Regions from separate parts of the Homo sapiens genome. Here region 2 is linked to region 1. Evidence: promoter capture Hi-C in 16 types of primary human blood cells and fetal thymus (Javierre and others, 2016). All regions are on one chromosome and are shown on one strand. Each heading gives the region's core, a stretch centred on a gene start or on the middle of the fragment in contact. The rest is flanking DNA. Distances are from core to core; before and after follow the strand shown.

Region 1 (6,689 bases), core at 2,711-5,210:
CATACTAAGAAAGAACAACAGTATAGGTAACTACATATGTAAACATAAAAACCAGTATTATTGTATTTTTGGGTTGTTTTGTTTTTGAGATGGAGTCTTCCTCTGTTGCCCAGGCTGGAGTGCAATGGCGCGATCTCAGCTCCTGGGTTCAAGCAATTCTGCTGCCTCAGCCTCCCGAGTAGCTGGGATTACAGGCACCTGCCACCACGCCCGGCTAATTTCTGTATTTTTAGTAGAAACGGGGTTTCACCATGCTGGCCAAGCTGGTCTTGAACGTCCAACCTCAGGCGATCCGCCCACCTCGGCCTCCCAAAGTGCTGGGATTACAGGCGTGAGCCACCATGCCTCTCCATATTTTTGGTTTTTAACTGCTTTTTTTGTATATTATTTAGAAGACAAATGCATATATAATAACAATAATTATAAATTCATAATAATGAACAATCATGTATAAAGATGTAATTTGCAACAATAATGTAAAGGACAGAGTTATACAGAAGCAGAATTTGGGATGCTGTTGAAGTTAAGCTAGTATCAATTCAAACTGGATTGTTATATATTTAGGATACTAATCGTAATCTTCAGAATAAGTACTAAAAAAAAACTAAATATATATAGAAAAGGAAATGAGGAGAGAATCAAAATGGTAAAAATCAGTTAAACCAGAAGACAATAATAGAAGAATTGAGAGTAGCCAAAAAATATATAAGGCATATAGAAAACAAGCATCAGAATGACAGAAATAAGTCTTTTCTCATGGAAACAAAATTTTCTAACATTAATATTTTCCAACAAAAGATTTGCAGTGAGTCTTGAATCTATTGTTTAAAACATCAAAACGGGCCGGCTGCGGTGGCTCATGCCTGTAATCCTAGCACTTTGGGAGGCCAAGGTGGGTGGATCATCTGAAGTCAGTAGTTCGAGACCAGCCTGGCCGACATGGTGAAACCCCGTCTCTACTAAAAATACAAAAATTAGCTGGGCGTGGTGGCAGGCGCCTGTAATCCCAGCTACTCGGGAGGCTGAGGCAGAAGAATAGCTTGAACCCAGGAGGCGGAGGTTGCAGTGAGCTGAGACCGTGCCACTGCACTCCAACCTGGGAGAGACGAGAGAGACTTCGTCTCAAAAACAAAACAATACAAAACATTAAAACGTAATACCTTTCTACTAGGAATGCTGAATACAACTTGGAAGTGAACAATTACCGGCCAAGTTTCTACTTCTAAAAATTTTTAGGCTAACCGAAGGATGGGGCAGAGCTAGAGCTATAGTACCATGATTTAGTAGCTTAGACAGCAAAAGACGTGTACAGTCACTTGGGGCCTCTCACTTCGAAGGGCCCCTCGCTTACTTCAATGCTGTGCTGTCACCATCTTGATATTTAAAATAATTTTTTAACAAGGGGTTCTACATTTCCACTTTGCACTGAACTCTGTAAATTATGTGACTGGTCAATGCAGTTCTTCCATTTGAATCTACATATTTTTTTAGGTATCTTTTCAGCTATAACAACCACTAAAATCAAGTATAACATAAAATCAGGCCGGGTGCAGTGGCTCATGCCTGTAATCCCAGCACTTTGGGAGGCCAAGGTGGGCAGATCGCTTGAGCCCAGGGGTTCAAGACCAGTCTGGCCAACATGGCAAAACCTTGTCTCTACAAAAGATACAAAAATTAGCCACGCATGGTGGCATGTGCCTATAGTCCCAGCTACTTGGCAGGCTGAAGTGGGAGGATTACCTGGGCCTGGGAGGTGGAGGTTGCAGTGAGCCAAGATAGCACCACTGCACTCCAGCCTGGGTAATAGAGTGAGACCCTGTCTCAAAAATAAAATTAAATTAAAAACTGAATTGTTATAAGAGCTAAACTAAATTTCTCAAAAATAATTATACACACAATTATATTTGCATATTTGTGTGTTTATAAACACACAATCATAAAATAGAGAAAGCAAAATTATTTGAGGACTGTTAAAAGTATTTTCATCATTGTTATTTTATATTTTTAGTTTCTTTTCTTGCATGTTTTATAATATAGATAATATATAAATATGGTAAAAATATTTTCATCATTGTTATTTTGTCTTTTAGATTTCTGTTTTTGCATGTTTTAAAATATGCACAACACATATCAATATAATACATGCATGTAGTTTATAAGTAAATAAGCACATATGGCACTAGATGTTCAACAACTTGTCATTTATGGAAGTGCATGGTCAAAAGAGTTTCTAAAACACTAATCTAGACACCCAATGATAACCTTGCTCTTTTAGAACCCAAGCTCCAAAATCGCTCCCTCTTCCCACTTCCTGTTCCTCAACAATACTTTGCAGAAGAAGGAGGCAATTTGGGCTTAGTGTCCAGGATTTGAAGTCAGGACTGGATTCAAATTCTCCTGCCCCTTTGGGAGGTCAAGACAGAAGGACAGCTTGAGGCTAAGAGTTTGAGACCAGCTTGGGCAAAATAGCCAGACTCTGTCTCTACAGAAAAATAAATAAATAAATAAATAAATAAATAAATAAATAAATAAATAAATAATTGCCAGGCCTGAGGTTGCAGTGAGCCGAGATCGCACCATTGCATTTCAGCCCCGGCGACAGTGCGAGACTCTGTCTCAAAAAAAAAAAAAAAAAATTGCCAGGCACGGGGGGGCACGCCTGTAGTCCCAGCTACGCCCAAGGCTGAGGCGGGAGGATCCCTTGAGCCCAGGAGTTCGAGGCTGCCGTGAGCCGTGATCGCACCACTGCACTCTTGCCTGGCTGAGACCTGTGAGTAAGGGCCAGGCACTGCAAGATGCTGCTTAACATGCACCGCAATGTCGTTTGCCCCGGGTGTTCGCGGTGAGGCTCGGATCTCTGAGAGCCTTTCTATCTCTGTCCGCCTAAGGTCTCATTCGCCCCCAATGACTGGATGGTGGCACTTCAGGCAGTGCAGTGAAGTGAATCTTTTCAGTAACATTAGAGTGATACCGCTGTTATAACCTAAAAATTCTCTCTTAAAATACACCACAGAAGGTAATTGCCACCGACTTCTCCGAATAAGGCCCGGGAGGTGGGGCAGGAGGCGCCCCTGAACCCTCGAGGACTCAAGCCTGGCGGGACGCTCCGTGGGTGACGGAGGCGGGAAGGGCCGAGGCGCCTGCATCTCTTAGAGCGCAGCCTCACACTTTCCCCTCCACCAGCCCGAACCTGACCACAGCCTCATGTCACCTCGCGTGCTCCCCCTCCTCGCCTCGGGCCGGTGGTGCCGGTGCGGTGCTTCCACGAGATCGCTCCTGGGTCGTGGGCCCTCGCGCGCGGGGATGGGGGCTGCCCTTCCCAGTCGCCCGGAGCCACTAGCGCGCGTGAGGAAAGGGCCCGATCCCTTCTCCGGGTGTCTGGCCGGCGCGGGAAGGAAAAGGCGCGCCCACCCCGGCTCTCTCCGAGGCCCTCACCTGGATGGTGTGGCCGCTGCCTGGGGCGGTGGGGCCCCCGACCAACTTGCAGTAGAGCTCGGGCTGGGGCCTCCCCTCGCCGGGTCCCCTCTCCCCGCAGGTGGCGGTGGCCCAAATCCTCGCCGCCTCGGCCAGGTTGAAGTAAGTCGGGTGAAGGCTGAGCCCGGCCGCGGCCCCGGGATCCCGAGCGGTCGCCCCGCAGGCTGGCAGCACCCGCAGTACCAGCAGGAGCAGCGGCGTCGGCGGCAGTACTGGCCCCAGTGCCCGACCCCGAGGCCGCGCGGCCGCCGCCATCCAGCCGCGCGGGGTCCTCCCGCCTGAGCCGTCCGCAGAGGGGCTCGGGGGCACCGCCGCTCTCCGCCTGCGCCTCCCGGACCTGCAGCGCCAGGACTAGCGCAGCCGGGGATATGGGCGGCGCCGGGGCCGCTCCCCTTGCTCCACGCGCTGGAAGCCCGCGGCGTGGGGGTGGCCTCTCAGCTCTGGAACCTGCCGCGGCTGGAGCGGGCACCAGCCGGATCAGGAACTGACAGCGCTCAGCCGCGCGCCAGCAGACGGCGTCTCTCCCGCGCGAGGCGCGCTGCAAACTTCGCGGGCGGGGAATGGGAGAGGCGTTCCCGGGCTCCCACCCAGGCGGCGGGAACGGGAGCCTGGGATCTTCGAACCCTCCAGGCGCCAGGACAGAAATTAATTAGATCGTTCTCCTCTCTGGATACTCACCGCTCAGGTCAAAGCCAGAAAAGCCACCTGTGACCTAAGAGTAAAGGAGGCTTGTAAACGAATTTGGTTGAGAGCAGAGGAAACTGCCACTACCTACAGAACTCACATCAAAGACATTTCGATTTCCCAGCCAAGTGTTGAGTCGTCAACTCCTCAACACTGTGCACCTAGGATCCCTGTGGCACTGCAGCCACAGGCTGAGCCAGGGAACTGGGAGTGGTGGAACGTACATATTTAAAAGACAGCCAATAATGCAAGTTGTAATTTGCCAACCTGGAAAGGAACCTTAGAGGAAATCCTTTAGATGCCTAATCTGCTCAATTTTACAAATAAGCTAACAGAGATTGAGTGAGGTACGCCACCTGCCATGATGGCCTCAGAACAGAGAAGACCCCCTCCCCCCACGACCCCGGACTGATGCTTGGTCTTATATGCAGAACACCCTACTAAAACAGAACCCACATAGGCCCTCGAAGAAATTAGAGGAATGCAATATTTGTACAATAAAAATTGCAAAACCTCTTTGAAAGAAATGTTAAAAGACCTAAATGAGTGGAAAAGCCTCCCATGTTCATGGATTAGGAGACAATATTGTGAAGATGGCAATATTTCCTAAAGCAACCTACAATTCAACACAATGGATTTTGATAGGGATCAAAATCCCGACTTTTTTTTTTTTCAGAAATTGACAAGCTGATCCTAAAATTCATGTGGAAATGCAAGAGACCTAGAAAATCCAAAACGATTCTGAGAAAGAATGAAGTCAGTGGACTCACGCTTCCTAGTTTTAAAACTTAATACAAAACTACAGTAATCAAGACAGTGTAGTACCGACATAACGATAAACATAGATCAATGGAATAGAATTGAGAGCTCAGAAATAAACCGTTACATTTATGGTCACTGGATTTTCAACAGGGTGCCAAGACTATTCAATGGGAAAAGAATAATATTTTTAATAAACGCTGCTGGGAAAACTGGACATCCCAAAATAATCTAGTAGGATCCCCACCTCATACTATATGCAAAAATTAACTCAAAATGGATTTAAGATCTCTAAATTTTACATTTAGAGAGCTAAACTATAAAGCTAAAACTATAAAATTCTAAGGGAAAAACACAGGAGAAAATCTTCATGACTTTGGATTAGCAATGCTGTCTTAGCTATGATATCAAAAGCGCAAGCAACAAAAGAAAAATATAAATTGGGCCGGGCACGGTGGCTCATGCCTGTAATCCTAGTACTTTGGGAGGCCGAGGTGGGTGGATCACCTGAGGTCAGGAGTTCAAGACTAGCCTGGGGAAAATGGTGAAACCCTGTATCTACTAAAAATACAAAACTTAGCCAGGCATGGTGGCATGTGCCTGTAATCCCAGCTACTCCAGAGGCCAAGGCAGGAGAATCACTTGAACCCGGGAAGCGGAGGTTGCAGTGAGCCAAGATCATGGCACTACACTCCAACCTGGGCAACAGAGCAAAAATCTGTCTCAAAACACACACACACACACACACAAAGATAAATTGAAACTTACCAAATTTTAAAACTTTTGTGCTTCCAAGGCACCCTCAAGAAAGCGAAAGATGGCCAGGCACAGTGGCTCATGCCTGTAATCCCAGCACTTTGGGAGGCCAAGATGGGTTGATCGCCTGAGGTTAGGAGTTCAAGACCAGCCTGGCCAACATGATGAAATTTTCTACTAAAAATACAAAAATTAGCTGGGCATGGTGGTGCACACCTGAAATCCCAGCTACTAGGGAGGCCGAGGCAGGAGAATCACTTGAACCCAGGAGGCAGAAGTTGCAGTGAGCTGAGATTGTGCCACTGCACTCTAGCCTGGGAAACTGAGAATCCATCTCAAAAAAAAAAAAAAAAAGAAAGTAGAAGACAATCCGCAAGATAGAAGAAAATATTTGCAAACCATATATCTAATTAGAAATTCATATCCAGAATAAACTCTTACAACTCAACCATTTTTTAAAAAGTAGTGGGCAAATATAAAAATGGTCGATAAGCATGACCATGGAAGACGCTCAACATCATTAGCCATCAGGAAAATGCAAACCAAAACCACAATGAGATACTACTTCACACACACTGGGATAGTTATAATCAAAAAGATAGATAATAACAAGTATTTGTGAGGATGTGGAGAAGTTGGAACCCTCACAGATTACTGATGGGAATGTAAAATGGTGCAGACACTTTGGCAATTCCTCAAAAACTTAAACATAACATGACCATGTGATCTGGCAATTCCAATCCTAAGAACATACTCAAGAGAACTGAAAATATATATCCACACAAAAACTTGTACATAAATGTTTATAGCAGCGTTAGTCATATAATAAAAAAATGAATACAACCTAATGTTCCCCAACTGATGAATGGATAGACAAAATGTAGTATATCCATACAATGGAATATCTGTCACACATAAAAAGAAATGAAGTTCTGATCCATGCTTACAACATGGAAGAACCTTGAAAACGTTATGGTAGGTGAAAGAAGTCAGACAAAAAAGACCACATATTGTAT
Region 2 (6,689 bases), core at 3,309-5,808, 230 kb before region 1:
AGTTAATGTGCAAACCTGAAAAGGTTCAGCATCTTGCAAGCACATGGGGAGTGTATATGAGCCAGTTCACTGTAACACTGTGTGCTATCAGAAAGAAGTCAAAAGTTGCTGCGTTAATGGATACGGAAGGTGGGTTGGCTGGGAAGCACTCCTTCACGAGGTTCTGAACTTTCACTTACCTTCCAGTCTTCCGAGCACTTTTTGGTTACTCCCACAGTATCATTCAATCTAACGACACCACTGGTTTTCTTCAAATTTTTCATGCAGCCTCGGAAAGCAGGCGTAGAAATGTTAAATCTGATTACGAACACAGATAAAAGGAAGAGATGGATCATGTCAGGCTCACGTGAAATCAGAGCTGAAACGCTGTGCTCTTTAGTACTTTTCACCCATAAATGAGTAGGTGTTTTATGTTTATCCTTTCCCATGGGATTCCCATAATGCTACTTATTTTATGATGCTGGGAGAACTGACTTCCTTTCTGTGTAAGTTTACATTCCCAGCTTTAAAAATGCAGACAACAATGTTAACAGAAGAATGGCCAGTGGCCGCAAAAGGTAAAGAGACAGAGAACATGCACAATATCTAGAACTGCCCGTCCCTCCCCGCTGGAGTCACGGCATTGCAGGTGGATAGGACATGTATTAATAAGTTAATAGATGATATATGATATACATATATATTAATAAAGTAATAAATCATTTGTAGGAACCAGGAGTGCTCTAGAAAACCTTTTGCTCTTTTTTTTCTGTTCACTGTTAAGTTAGCCACTGTAAAGTCAGAAGAAACAAAGTGTTACTTTTTGGTTCTATTCAATTATGAAAAACGTAGCTTGATTTAACCAATGCCAAGCTGAAACAATGGAACACATTGTCTGGGTTCATATGCTGCTGTATCTACCACCTCCTACCTGTGGGCAAAGGGTTATTGCCAGGATTTAAAAAATTAACGGGCCGGGTGGGGTGGCTCATGCCTGTAATCCCAGCACTTTGGGAGGCCAAGTCAGGTGGATCACTTGAGGTCAGGTGTTCGAGATCAGGCTGGTCAACATTGTGAAAACTTAACTCTACTAAAAATACAAAAATTAGCTGGACGTGGTGGCAGGCACCTGTAGTCCCAGCTACCCGGGAGCTGAGGTTGGAGAATCATCTGAACCCGGGAGGCGGAGGTTGCAGTGAGCTGAGATCGTGCCACTGTACTCCAGCCTGGCAACAAAGCGAGACTCTGCCTCAAAAAACAAAAACAAAACCAAAAAAACAAGTTAACGTACAGCAAGAGCTTGCAGCAGTGCATGGCACCTGGACGTGAATGCTCAGCAGGTGTTTCTGAGAGGCAAAATTGTGCTGCTCTGGACCAGCCAAATTGCCTGGGTTCAAGTTCTGTCCCTTCTGATTGAACAGGCAACTTTTCTCCGTGCCTGTTTCCTCATTTAGACAATGGGAATATGTGAATCTGTTTCATAGGGCTGTCATAGTCTAAGAAAGTTAATATGTGTAACACACTCAAACAGTGTTTTGTACAGAGTAAGGACTCAATGTGAGATCGTCAAGTTAGTAACTACTCCCATATTACTGCTCTTATATAATGAGAGCAATTTCTAAAGCAGCTCTTTCTACATGGCCCCAGGGCATTTCCCCTTCGATTTGACTTCTGGATCTGTCTGGAGCTGAATGCACATAAAGCATTCACACACATGAACTAACTGAAGTCCAGGCAAATATTTGTGTTTCTTAAACAAATGATGTACTAAGAAAACCCAAAGCTGATTTCATTCTAAATCCCTAATGCAGCTTACTTTTCTAAATGGAAAGGTGTCTGCATTCATTTTAATCCAATTCATTAGAAACAGTTGAGCTACCTGTAATAGACCTAAAATTAAATTTCATTAAAAGGAAAAGAAAGAAACAAATCCTCACTGGCATTACAGTATAAGCCTAATTATTTTATAAAGATGGCCTTTTGCCTCAGAAGAGGAGGAGGGTTCATTTCCATTCCTGGAGCTTGCCTATTTATACATGGTTTTAGGTCAATTCTTCTTTGGGTTTCAACATATCTCTTGGACAACGACATTCCAGATGTCCCTCTCTCCATAGATTATTGGTCAAAGAAAGAAGGTTGCAGAAAAGGAAAATAGTAGGAGAGAAAGGCAGTTAACAGATACAGACCACCTATTTTGCACGAAGCTCTATGAATCCAACTTACAATAAGCTTTTGAGGGAGGTATTTTCTCTTTTATATTATTTTATTTTATTTTAAGTTCTAGGATACATGTGCAGGAAGGGCAGGTTTTCTTATCTAACATTTATTGAGCACTGACCATGTGCTGACCTCTGCTAATTCCTTTACACACTCTGAATCTTCCAACCACCCTAAGAGATAGGCAGCTACTATGCCCATACTATAGATGTAGCAATGAGGCATTAAGAGGTTAAGGCCTTGCCTAAGGTCACACAGCTGGTAAGTGGTAGAGCTGGGGTCTGTACTGTCAGTGTGTCACACAGGTTAGTGAGGCTTGAAGCCCTTGCTTTTTACACTTACAGTTGGTATTCCTGCAGCACTTGGAAGTGATCATGCCTTTTTCTAGAAGAGTTACCTACAGCAGAAGTGTTAAAATGGAAGAGATTTACTTCCACTATTCCTGGGGGGATTCTTGTTACCTTGGCTTACCTGAGGACCTACAGTTCTACATTTACTCCAGGATACAGGGTCTGAACATACTTGCTAGAGGAATGTGATTGCACTGGGGCATGAGTTGTTGTGTTGGTGGGTTCCTGCGTTGGGGTATTTATGTATACTTTGGGCCAATCTGTCCACAAAAGCTTAGCCAGCTCCATGGCTGTTGCAGGCCGACTTCAGAGAGCAAAAAGAACAAAAGGCAGCCCTAATCTTGGTGTTGGGTACTTAGTCGATGTTCAATAGATCTACTTTTTGGATCATTTTCATTTTAGTGTGTATAATCACACTCTGTAAACAATGGTGTAGGTCCTCAAGAAAAATGCCCTTGTTGGTGTCACACCCTCTGGCATTACCAGGGATGATTTGCTCTTCTCCTGGGTAGGAGATGGGATTAACAGAATGATTTCTGATTATAATCGGAAACAAGCCATTCCAAGATCTGGGTCCCCATTCCCAGAAGAAACACTACAGTGAGAGGGGGAAGAAACAAAACGTGCACAAAATCCCTTGAGCAAAGCTGATTTAGTGATTACACTTGCTTGCCTTGCTCCAGGTTAGGTTTGAGAACTTTGTCTAAAAGGTCCCTCCATTTATGCCAGGGACCAGAACACCTCCCTGCTCTGGAAGCGTTGGCTGGTTGCCCCTACAGAGCTTGGCTGTGGATTATCCATGGAACTCCTCTGTGCCCACCCCACCTCCCAGTGACTCATGCCCAATGGCAGTTTCAGGAATCTCTGGGCCACCAAAGACTTCACCACAGGGATGAGGCAACACCCAGAACAGCTGACTATTCCTTAGAATTTTGCTTTAGAGGGAGTGAAGGGCCAGTGAAATCTTTTGACTGGCCTCTATCTCCTGCATTTTCCATGTTCCAGTGATTTTAATAAAAAGTCAAAATATAGGCTGTGCATGGTGGCTTATGCCTGTAATCCTAACACTTTGGGAGGCAGAGGCAGGTGGATCACCTGAGGTCAGGAGTTCGAGACCAGCCAGACCAACATGGCAAAACCCCGTCTCTACTAAAAACACAAAATTAGCCGGGCATGGTGGCAGGCACTGTAATCCCAGCTACTCGGGAGGCTGAGGCAGGAGAATTGCTTGAACCCGGGAGGTGGAGGTTGCAGTAAGCCGAGATTATGCCATTGCATTCCAGCCTGGGCAACAAGAGCAACACCTCGTCTCAAAAAAAAAAAAAAAAAAGAAAAAAAAAGGTCAAAGTATAAAACTTGCCCAGAAAAAGGAAGCAGTCCCTTGTTTGGAGGATCCCAAAATAAGTTACTAAGAAAATTCTAGGCCAGGCATGGTGGCTCATGCCTGTAATCACAGCATTTTGGGAGGCCAAGGTGGGTGGACTACCTGAGCTCAGGAGTTCAAGACCAGCCTGGACAACATGGGGAACCCCGTCTCTGCTAAAAATACAAAAAATTAGCCAGGCATGGTGACACATGCCTGTAATCCCAGCTACTCAGGAGGCCAAGGTAGGAGAATCACTTGAGCCCAGGAGGCAGAGGTTGCAATGAGCCAAGATGGCGCCACTGAACTCCAGCCTGGGTGACAGAGCAAGACTCTTGTCTCAAAAAAAGAAAGAAAATTCTGGACTGGGCACAGTGGCTCACGCCTGTAACCCCAGAATTCTGGGGGTGGGAGGATCACTTGAGGCTAGAAGTTCGAGACCAGCCTGGGCAACACAGCAAGACCCCATCTCTACAAAAAATTGTTTTAAAAAAGCAAATTCTCTATGTATATGCATCTCTATATCTATATATTTCTTTAATGGATGGAGATGAAAAGGCAAATAAAGGTTGAGTGCTGAATTAACCTAAAGTTTTGCTGAGCCAAAACTAAAGCCACCTCTTTTGTGGTTCTACCTACTGCTCTTTTCTAGAAAACCTGGACTGACTGGCATCCACATCACTGTCTAGGGGCCTTGTGTTAATATCATGCAAACACAAACCACCACCAATGGGTTCCTTATTGCCTCAACTTGAGAATTCCTCCTGGCTCTGGGTAAGCCCACTGGCCTCTACCACCTCAATGACTACCTGGCCCTGAGCTTCATTTACCCTTCTCCAGACTGGCCTCCTTTCTGGAGGCCCAGGCCATTTTGTGCGCCTGCTTGTGGGCCTCTCCACCTGGCTGTGTCTCAGGCTCCTGGACTAAGCCTGTCTCAGACTTAACTTCTCACCCCACTCCTCCGTTGGTGTGTTCCATCTGCCAAGGGCTTAGCCAAAAACCAGGCATCATTCTTGACTGCTTTTCCCCTTTATTCCCCAACCCAAGCCATTGTGCAGTGCTGCCCATTCACCATCCTAAATATATTTGGAATCTGATCCCTGTTGCTCACCTGCATAACCACTCCTTGGGCCAGGTCACCCTCATCACTCACCTCTGTTAATATACTCGGCCTCCAGCCACTCTACCTGCCTCTGCCCTTTTCTTCTCTAATCCAGTCTCTGCCCTGCACTAGAGTGAGCTACTGAAAACCCAAATTTGGTCATGGCCTTTCTCTGCTGAAGTCCCTCCAATGGCTCCTTACTGTGACTTTCAAGGTACTCTGTGGTCAGGCCCCTGCTGCCCACATCAGCCCCATGGGGCATCCCTATCCCACTTCCTGCTGTACTCTAGCTCTTTGCAAGTTCATGCTTTCTCTATCCAGCTTTGGTGCTTCACATACACTGACTGCTAGCATCTCTCAGGTCCCAGCTGGAGGTCACTTTCCTGATGGCCCCAGTTGGATTAGGTTCCCTCCTGGGCTCTGTCAGCACCCTGAGCTTCCTCCTATGGCACACGTCATGTTCTCCTGTAGTGACTGTCTCTCTTCTGTTCTTCTCCAGGCTCCACCCTGCTCATTGTTGCCTTCTTGGCACCTGTCACTCTGCCTGATGCCCATTAGGCACTCAATAAATCCTGTGTAATGAATGAATAAGTGGCAACTCTCAAACATACTCAAAAGTACTCGAAAAAACTACCTTAAACGATTTTATTTTATTCCATTTCATGGAAATAAAATCAATCTTACTGACAATTCATAACTGGCTATTCATGGCTGAATTGCTATTTGATATTGATAATATTAAATATTAATATAATCTCACTGGCTCTGAATTTCTTCATTTGTAAAACTCAGGGGCTACATACCATGATCTGCAAGGCTCCTTCCAGAGCCCAGGGAGTAAAGATGTCACCCCCAGGTTCTGTTGAAGTGCCCAGCTTTCCCATTTGCATTTTTGCCTTTGGAGGCAACCCTGACAACTTTAAAACAAAGATTAGTACCTGACTACGTAGAATGGACAGACGCCCACATGTATAAGGACTCTAGAAGAAAGAATACCTTGGCATGACACCTTATAAATCATATTCTAGTTCCTTCCAACTGATGTATAAGTTAGCAAAAGAGTTAACTAGCTTCAGATCTCATATAAAAGTCATCATAACCTAACCTTCTGGGAGCACTCTTACTTAGTCATGAGGCTGCACTAATCCTTCCAGGATATGTTCTGTCCACACACTATCGTCAGCTATCTAAAAGCCTTCCGGGAGGATACAAATGATCAAAATGTAAAAGTTATTTTTACGTGCATTCCAAAATGGTGGGATTTTTCCCATTCAGATAAAGCTTTACTGCCTTTCACATTAATTAATTCATGTGTTCACTCATCCAAGAAACAGTTACGTAACAATTCCACGCTCGATAGCATGTAAGGAGCAGCTGATGCCGAAGTGAAGGAGACATACTGTTTCACATTCTTCCAGAGGCTCCCTGAAGGTGGCAACCTCAGCTTTCAGTTCCCCAGGGATGTCTGTCAGGCCTTGGGAGGCCCACGCTCTCCTATGCAGCCTTCAAGGGCCCAGGGCCACAGCCTCTGTTCTACTTGCTGCCAGCATTGTTAACCCAACTATACCCTTCGTGGTCCCTCCCCTCCCGAGAATGACAATGGCGGTGACACACATTCCCCCACCCTCCTTCTTTCCACTGCCCAGTCTCATTATTCGGGATTTAAATCTGTTTTATT

What was found. The method cuts DNA at HindIII sites, captures the fragments that hold promoters and counts their contacts. A CHiCAGO score of 5 or more calls a contact.
Region 2: a fragment that was not itself captured here is called in contact with the fragment with the promoter of LAMA3 in region 1 in 1 of 17 cell types (M1 macrophages); the score reaches 5.3 in M1 macrophages.

Annotation. Positions count from the first base shown.
Region 1 is chr18:23,686,724-23,693,412 of GRCh38, reverse strand. It overlaps LAMA3 (laminin subunit alpha 3), which reads right to left and starts at 3,960. Exons shown (of 75, transcript NM_198129.4): 1 at 3,436-3,960. The coding sequence starts at 3,729. RefSeq lists an enhancer at 4,052-4,601. The HindIII fragment of the contact is 9,125 bases long and covers 1-6,689 here.
Region 2 is chr18:23,921,731-23,928,419 of GRCh38, reverse strand. It overlaps LAMA3 (laminin subunit alpha 3), which reads right to left. Exons shown (of 75, transcript NM_198129.4): 63 at 180-297. Among named protein-coding and RNA genes, the nearest start is that of LINC02958, 57 kb to the left of the region's middle. The HindIII fragment of the contact is 3,473 bases long and covers 2,822-6,294 here.